2 separate regions of the Homo sapiens genome follow, and region 1 is linked to region 2. The links are contacts of gene promoters, found by promoter capture Hi-C in human tissues and cell types (Jung and others, 2019). All regions are on one chromosome and are shown on one strand. Each heading gives the region's core, a stretch centred on a gene start or on the middle of the fragment in contact. The rest is flanking DNA. Distances are from core to core; before and after follow the strand shown. Region 1 overlaps LOC105378994 (a long non-coding RNA gene). Region 2 holds the start of SMIM15 (small integral membrane protein 15).

Region 1 (4,365 bases), core at 1,791-4,290, 160 kb before region 2:
ACTACAGGCACCCGCCACCATGCCTGGCTAATTTTTTGTACTTTTAGTAGAGACAGGGCTTCACCATGTTAGCTAGGATGGTCTCGATCTCCTGATCTCAGGTGATCTGCCCGCCTCGGCCTCCCAAAGTGCTGGGATTACAGGCGTGAGCCACAGTGCCCAGCCAAGCCACTAATATCTTACCATTAGTATTTTGGGACAGTGGGCAAAGACACCATACTAGGTCCTTTACAAACAGTAACTCATTTAATGCCTCTTACACAAGAAACAAACGAAGAAACTGAGACTCAGAGAAATTTGCCAAAGGTTATTTGGCTGCTATCTGGCCACGCAAGGATTCAAGTTCTGTCGGTCTCACTCTAAAGCCAGAATTTTTTTCCATTATCCAGTATTTCCCAAACTTGTCAGGTCATAAGAATCACCCTGAGCACTTGTTAAAAATATACATTTCCTTTACCTCTCCCCTGGAGATTCTGATTCAGCAGGGCTGGGGTGGAGCTTGGAATCTATCTTTTTAACCCATGCCCTGGATAATTCTTCAGAATAGGCAAAATTGGGAAATATCATATTCCACACCACATTGTCACTCAGTAACCCACACTATTTCATTCCTTAAGATGTCCCCTTCTAAAATGTGCTGAATTATAAGAAAATATATTCAACCACTGATCAATCAACCAATCTTTTCCAACCTGCTTCTAAGAACAGTGTATTCTGTTTAGATGGAAGCCTTTAAAGTTACAAGCTGGAATTTTGAAAAATAAATTATTGCATCTCAATATATACCAAAAAACCAGGCTGGCAAAATTGCTTACAAATGAATTTGTTTTAAATGTTGTGATTTGGGCAATAATTCTACCCTCAAGAAGTAAAAGAGATTTGCTTTCATTAAATATTAAATAATTTGCGTGTGTCAATTTTCAGAAAAGAAAAACATTTTAGCGTATAGTCTCTATACCATTTAAATATTAGTAAAAGTTACCAGGCTATTATCATTCTGTTAGTTACTCCAATGCAAAGTGCAATGGTGAGGATCTTATTAAATGAAAACATCTTAAAACTGGAAGGTTCATCAGGCTTCAAAACAGGCTTAGAACCCAGTGATGGCCAAAAGAAATAGGAAATGCCACATTTCCTTATAACCTTAATATTTCCCCTTTTAAATAACTAACTTTTTATGAACTATTTTGTTAAGATTGTCACAGGATAAACAAAAGAATACTATTTAATCTATTTAATAGGATAATGTAAAGACATTTATTTCAGTATTTATTTACCTGTGTTAACTAGGAAAAAACTCCCACTTTTAAACACTAAAAAAGTGTTAGTATAGAGAATCATAATTTAGAAAATTAATGATTTTCTCAAAATTGCCTCACCCTACTAGGTCACTCTCTTGCAGATATCTCTGATAATGTGAGATGGTACAAGAAAAAGAGGTTTAAGACATATTCTCTAGGGAGACAAAAGGTGCTCTGACATGTATGAAGGATGTATTTACAGAAAGTAATGTCATTCCAAAATTCACTTTGTAAGGATATAGAATGAGCATTTTTCAAAGTGATCAAATAGTACTTTGTTCATTCTCATTCCTATTTGGAGGAAGTAAAGATGTAAAATCTAGACAGCCAGGTAACTTTAGGGGGCACCTTATGCCTAGATAAAGATTATTTGCATTTAAGATACATGAAAATTAAAATTTTAAACATGAAAGCCAAATTCTGAAACAAATTTATTAACGGCATTTTATCACCTACAGTATTTTTAAATATTCAAGAATTCACTCCCTGTCAAGAAAGGAATCATGACAATTCAGATGTGAAAAATGTCACTTCCAATGACTTTGTTCAAATCCAGAATTAGATAACTTGTGAAAATGAAGAGGTTTCAGTAAAAGCTGGTGTATCAGACATTTTTCAACGTGAAATCTATATTAACTCACACCCCCACGGAATCACGTTGCAATAAAACCATGGTTATGCAGAACTTTTGTGAAAACCACCCAGATTGGACAGGTTTCCCAAAGAGCTGAAGTTGTACTTTTTAAGGACCAAACATCTCTTTTTTTGAAACAGAGTTTTGTTCTTGTTGCCCAGGCTGGAGTGCAATGGAGCGATCTCGGCTTCCCACAACCTCCGCCTCTGGGGTCCAAGCGATTCTCCTGTCTCAGCCTCCCAGGTAGCTGGGATTACAGGCATGCGCCACCATTCCCGGCTAATTTTGTATTTTTAGTAGAGATGGGGTTTCCCCATGTTGGTCAGGCTGGTCTTCACCTCCCGACCTCAGGTGATCCGCCCGCTTTGGCCTCCCAGAGTGTTGGGATTACAGGCATGAGCCACTGCTCCTGGCCCAAAAATCTTTTTAAAAGCTTAACGGGGCTATGTGTGGTGGCTCACACCTGTAATCCCAGCACTCTGGGAGGCCGAGGCAGGCAGATCATTTGAGGCCCGGAGTTTGAGACCAGCCTGGCCAACATGGCAAAACCCTGTCTCTATTAAAAATACACAAAATTTGCTGGGCTTGGTGGCAAGCACCTGTAATCCCAGTTACTCCAGAGGCTGAGGCACAAGACGGCTTGAACCTGGGAGGCAGAGGTTGCGGTGAGCTGAGATCACGCCACTGCACTCCATTCTGGGTGACTGAGTGAGACTCTGTCTCAAAATAAAATAAAAATACAGGCTTAACCCTGCACACTAGAAATCTTTCTAAAACATGACACACTTCTTTGACTTCTTAAGCATATTATAAGGACTGATTATAAACACAATGATGCCCTTAAGAGCTACTAAGGTACGCAAGGTTGCTTGTTCATAACAAAAAACCCAGATTGCTGGCTTGGTTTTTCTTCTCTTTTTCTCTTTATTTCTTTTGCCCTTCCCTTCCCTCCCCACTTCCCTCCCCTCCCCTTCCCTTCTTTCCCCTTCTTTCCCTTCCCTTCTTTTCCCTCCATTTTTTATTTAGTTTGTTCTAGGTTTTGTTTTGGTTTGTTGGTCTCAGCCTTTACAGTTGTGCTATTTCCTGTTACTTTCACTTTTTTGTTGTTTATTTAGAGTCGATCTTGCTGTATTGCCGAGGCTGGACTCAAACTCCTGGGCTCAAGTGATTCTCCTGCCTCAGTCTCCTGAGTAGCTAAGACTACAGGCATGTACCTCCATGCCTAGCCCCTCTTACTGTTAATTATTGTCATATAACCACCCATAATGTCGCTTCTCACTTTCTGAATTATTGCTCTCCCCATGTTGTAGCCTCTGAACCCGGAGAACCTTATTTCTACAATTATGTGTAAAGTAAAATCAGCGAAGTTCTTAATGAGAATCTCCCACCTGGTTAAAATGTACACGATCTTTGTCACATTTATTTTGCCTCTTGCAGACTTCCTAGATTCCAGCTAGGTCCCAGAAAATGGAGAAGTTATTAGATGACCAAACTCTGGCTTCTGAGGGGTTAATATAGGATGATAATTGACATTTGTGATGATGAGTCCAAGATGCCTACTGAATCATCATGTGTAAAATAATATTTACTGAACATGATTTAGGTTTAAAGCATTTAATGAAATTATAACCTTTGGAACTTGGTGGTTCACTTCTGAAATCTATGGCAATGTTTTGACAGATTTCAGATGAAACAAAATCTGCATTCCCAGGTCACACACAAGGACTGTATGCCATGCACTCCTATGACAGCTTGAGTTCACCCTGGAGAGGGGAGGGTTAGAAACCAAATCCTTAACAAGCCTGCCCTGCAAGACTCAAGACTGTGCATTAGGAATGACCTGGTCCCTGCCCACCTCTCCAAATGGCCTTACCCCAAGTTCATTCCCTTTGCTCTCTGGAGCTCTGCCAACACAGGCTACTCAGGCCTACTTTCAATTCCTTTAACACTCACTTCCTCCAGAGGCCTTTGCCCAAGAGTTCCTGCTCCCTGGAATGTTCTCCTTCCCCAGGCCCCACAACCACTGCCTAGTTTCCTCCTGCTCGGCTTAATCACACTTCCTTAGGAAAGCCTGGCCGCCCTGACAGGTCAGTTCTGTCTATTACACACTCTAGTAGTTACGTGTACTTCTCCTAGGGGCTCTTATCTGAGTTGTAATTTTTCATTTAGTTGTATGTAGGACACATTACCTGGAGAATAGTAGGTGCTCAATAAATATTTGTTCACTGCATGGAAGGGAGGGAGCAAGGGCACTTCAGCCAGACTGGCCTCCTCATTGTGGTTAACATCAAGGTGTGCCAGGAGAGCAATTTCCAACAGCTTAACATTCACTTGATTGCTGCCAAGGCCCATGGGTCTTTCCTTTCCTTTCTAGAAAAGAGTAAAATCTACTCGATGAACATTCAGCAGCATGGTGTGAAGCTATTATGG
Region 2 (4,111 bases), core at 1,336-3,835:
GGTGGTGGCTCACGCCTGTAATCCCAGCACTTTGGGAGGCCGAGGCGGGTGGATCACGAGGTCAAGAAATCGAGACCATCCTGGCCAAATGGTGAAACCCCATCTATACTAAAAATACAAAAATTAGCTGGGCGTGGTGATGCCCGCCTGTAGTCCCAAGTACTCAGAAGGCTGAGGCAGGAGAATCGCTTGAACCTGGGAGGTGGAGGGTGCAGTGAGCCAAGATCGCAGCACTGCACTCCAGCCCTGGTGACAGAGACTCCGTCTCAAAATTAAAAAAAAAAAAAAAAAAAAAGACCTTAAGAAAACTTGCAATAATGTTTCTATCAAATACCTTACTATGCTATTTATTTAAGAAAAATGACCAAATCCAGTCCAATTTACAGATTTTAAAGCTGAAAGGGCATTGGAGATTGCCTAGTATGCTTTCCACATATCTAAGTGGAAACACACTCAGAGTGATTTATCAGAGTATACATAACATTACTGTACCACAACTGTGAATCTCAGTTCACGAGCTCAGACTTCTCTTTATGGAAAGTAGTTCACAGTATTTGAATCAATCCTGACACCACCTTTAGTTAAGGCAATGCAGACTGCAGTAAGGAGCTCCACTGTGGCAACCCCTATGCTGTTCCTGGTCTTGCAGACTGTCCTGTAACTTGAAGCTAGATGAGCAAACTTAGATTGTAAAGGCATGGTCTAGATCAGCAGTCTCCAACCTTAATGGCATCCAGGACTGGTTTCGTGGAAAACAATTTTTCCATGGACGGGGATGGGGGATGCTTTCAGGATGAAGCTGTTCCACCTCAGATCATCAGGCATTAGATTATCATAAGGAGCGCACAACCTAGATCCCTCGCACATGCAGTTCACATTACGGTTCGCACCATGAGAATCTAATGATGCTGCTGATCTGACAGGAGGCGGAACTTAGACGGAAATGCTCACTCACCCATCGCTCACCTCCTGCTGTGCGGCCCCGTTCCTAACAGGCTGCAAACCAGGTACCAGTCCGTCGTTGGGGACCCCTGGTCTAGATTACAGCTAAAGAACTACAAAGGCTTTCTCTTTATATGCCCTTCCTTCCTGCCCAAGACTTCTGGGCTTTTAACTAGGGATGCAGCACTGCAAGTATCCGGAGGCAGTAACTGGGAAAACCACCTATCATGATTAAAATAAAACACGCATTGGCCTCTGGAACGAAGGATGTTAAAATAATACATTCTGCCCACATCTTGGATTCAAGACTTGGGGAAGTTTTAGAAAAATCAGTTATCTCAAGTAAGTATTCAGTGCACACAATCCAGTGACTGAGTCTACTTTTTCTGGCTACTAAGGTACAGGCTAGGCCTAAGCAGCATAGGCTTTGAAACTATCATCCAGGTTTTCAAATAAAAAGGAGTAAGAAAACAACTGCTGGTAATACAACATTACAAACATTAACATATGCCCAACGAACAGTATCGTAGATCGTTAGATTATCTGCCAAAAGCCTGTTCCCTGGTAAATAACAGTTATTGTTGTTTTACCTAAACTAGTTAAACATGTCGCAGCTTGCTCCTGAAAGAGAACATTCTATAGTCTTTGGAGAATCAGTGAAGAGGTCTTGCAACATTTGTCAGAGGTAGTCAAACAGTGCAAGCAATCACAAAATTTGGTCACCAACCAAACCAGATTAGCTAATCTTTCAGTTCCTGTAGATTAGAAGACAATATTAACTCACCCTTTCTGCATGTTGACTTTTGCATCCCTTTATTTGTGTATTGAAAGAACAAGCACCTCTATGGGAACTCTATGCCCTGACAGTTTAATTACTTATCAAGTTTACTCTGGGCCGGTATTGATCATTCTTTCGTGAAACGAATTAGATACTTAAATTAAAAACAAACAACAAAACCCCCCTTTTCACATAGCATGGCGGCATGTCCCTTGGTAACAAGGTTGAGTGGATCCACCAAGGCCCAGTAGCTTGCCTCCTTTTCGTAAGGATGTAACTATTGTCCAACCAGAAGAGAGAGGCATGGAGTGGGATGTGCACCAGGATGAACTCGCCGGAATCGTCAAGAGTCGTTGTGTGACCCTCACCTTGACTTCGGGCGTTTTGTGGGGACCCAACTGCTTTCTTGCCGCTGCTCTTTGGTCTGAGTTTCCCTCAGCCAAACACTTCACCCACCCATGACCCTCCAACTGTCCCGCTACAGCAGGGGATGGGGGTTGTCTTCCGATCGACCTCGGGGGGCAAAGGCAAAAGTCCCTAGCTGCTTCGGAACCGCTCCTCGAGTCCTGAAGCCGCTCCACGCCTCCTCGCCCACCACTTGGTCCCCGCAGGACGTGGCAGTCTCGGGCTCCAGCCTGGAAAGGAGCCCGCCCGGGTGCCGTCACCCGCCCCGCGCGGCCTCACCTGCCGCTCCCCGGAAATCTCAGCGCTGCCCTGCCCCCGCCCCCACCCTCCCGCGTCCTCCAACTCGAGGTCCCAAGACCCACACAGCAATGGCGCAGCCGGAAACTGGGCCCTAGACTTACTCACGCCCGGCTGGCGGCTCGGGTCGCCTGTGGGCGGGACGCAAAGGCCGCGACTTCCGCCTTCCTGCTTCCGGTCTGGCGGTGAGTGGGGAGTGGGATCCGATCCCGTGGGGCTATGTAGGGGAAGTTGGTGGCTGCAGCTGCCGTGGTTTTCTCCTGGTGTCCAGCAGAAACGGCGGCGGCGCAAGGTGTGGCTGGGCCAACCCAGGATCTCCCAGGACCCTCCGCTCTGCGCGACAAGGGGCCCGCGCTTGCCAAGGCCGACGGGCAGGAGTGAACGTGGCCTCCGTGGGTCTGCAGCCCCGATAGGGTAAGGAGGGAAGAGTGAGCAAGGGAGAAACGTAAGGAATAAGGGAAAGACAAAGGAGGAAGTGCGGACGGCCGTCAAGTGCTACCCGTTGCAGCCGCAGGGGCCACGCGGGTCTGGTTGGGAGATCGAGCCTGGTCGATCCGTTTTGGGCGGAAGAGTAGGATTTATTCCTGAAAGTGTGGAGGCGCGAGCGTTTGGGTCCGAAGTTGAGTTGCAGGGAGATGTGTGGCCTGTGGACCATGGCTCTTTTACTGCAAAGTTCTTTTGCTTATTTCTGAAACTTACATTGTTTATTCGCTACTGGGCTGGAGAAGGTGAAGGCAGATCGATCTCAGTAGTACCTAATTCTAACTGTATGGGTGAGGTCGTATGAAGTCCAGGAGCTAAGATATTTAACGTATTAGGCACTTTCATGTGTGTTCAGTTGAAAATCGTGGGGAAGATATAATTAAAACTAGTCACAGTTTTCTTGGGGTAATGGGACTGTGGGTGAATTACTATAATTTGTTTGGTTATGTCTTCTAATTTTTTAAGTAAAGGACACAAATTGTATGATGGACCCAAAAAAACCTTTATAAAGAGTAAGATGAGCTGTTTGATTTTGTAGTGGTGTACCTAATCCAGTAAATAAATGAGTGGCAACATTTTTAGTATAAAAATTGAAAATCTAGGAACGGATACGCTGTGTAAGTCAGTCAGTGAGCCAACTTGTCTCCCGTATGTCAATGAACTAAAAAAATTTTATTATTGAAATAAGTAACTTAGTAAAATACTTGATTTCCAGTAATTAGGATTTTCTTACAGGGCATTTGCAATTGTAAATTCAAATGAGGAAGAAACGTATTAAGTTACTATACCGGATAGGCAATTTTAGATGTCATATAGGTTGCATATATACAATATAGAAATTTTCCATTTAAAATTTTATTACAATTATCCTGAAATTGTGACTTAAATTTTGTTTTATTTTTTGTATTCTTTCCAACTAGCCAATTGTACAGAATTTAAACCGTCTCTCAGATGTGTACAGTAGAACTCAAGAAGACAGACTACCAAGGGTCATCTGAAGTCGTGATTGGGTCACTAATAACACCAGGACAAAGTTAAGGGATCACTACTCAAGCATAAGGTAGATGATTTTTTTAAAAAAATTCCAGTTGAAATTGTAAGTGGATGTATATACACTCATTCCCTACCCAGGTATTCTAATTCTCCACTTTGAATAGCGGTTGACACAAACATGAAAGGGAGAAAAGCCTCTGGGGCAAAATAGAA

Evidence for each region. The method cuts DNA at HindIII sites, captures the fragments that hold promoters and counts their contacts. A contact is called where the count stands out against the background at its distance.
Region 1: a contact is called between a fragment that was not itself captured here and the fragment with the promoter of SMIM15 in region 2, in 1 of the 25 tissues and cell types used here (mesenchymal stem cells).

Annotation. Positions count from the first base shown.
Region 1 is chr5:61,322,753-61,327,117 of GRCh38, reverse strand. The region is part of intron 1 of LOC105378994 (a long non-coding RNA gene); the gene reads left to right. Among named protein-coding and RNA genes, the nearest start is that of ZSWIM6, 7.3 kb to the left of the region's middle. The HindIII fragment of the contact is 5,952 bases long and covers 65-4,365 here.
Region 2 is chr5:61,160,942-61,165,052 of GRCh38, reverse strand. SMIM15 (small integral membrane protein 15) reads left to right here and starts at 2,585. Exons shown (of 3, transcript NM_001048249.4): 1 at 2,585-2,836; 2 at 3,826-3,965. SMIM15-AS1 (SMIM15 antisense RNA 1) reads right to left here and starts at 2,737. Exons shown (of 4, transcript NR_109908.1): 1 at 2,527-2,737. RefSeq lists enhancers at 1,897-1,956, 1,997-2,096, 2,627-2,886, 2,957-3,036, 2,522-3,418 and a silencer at 2,337-2,446. The HindIII fragment of the contact is 13,088 bases long and covers 1-4,111 here.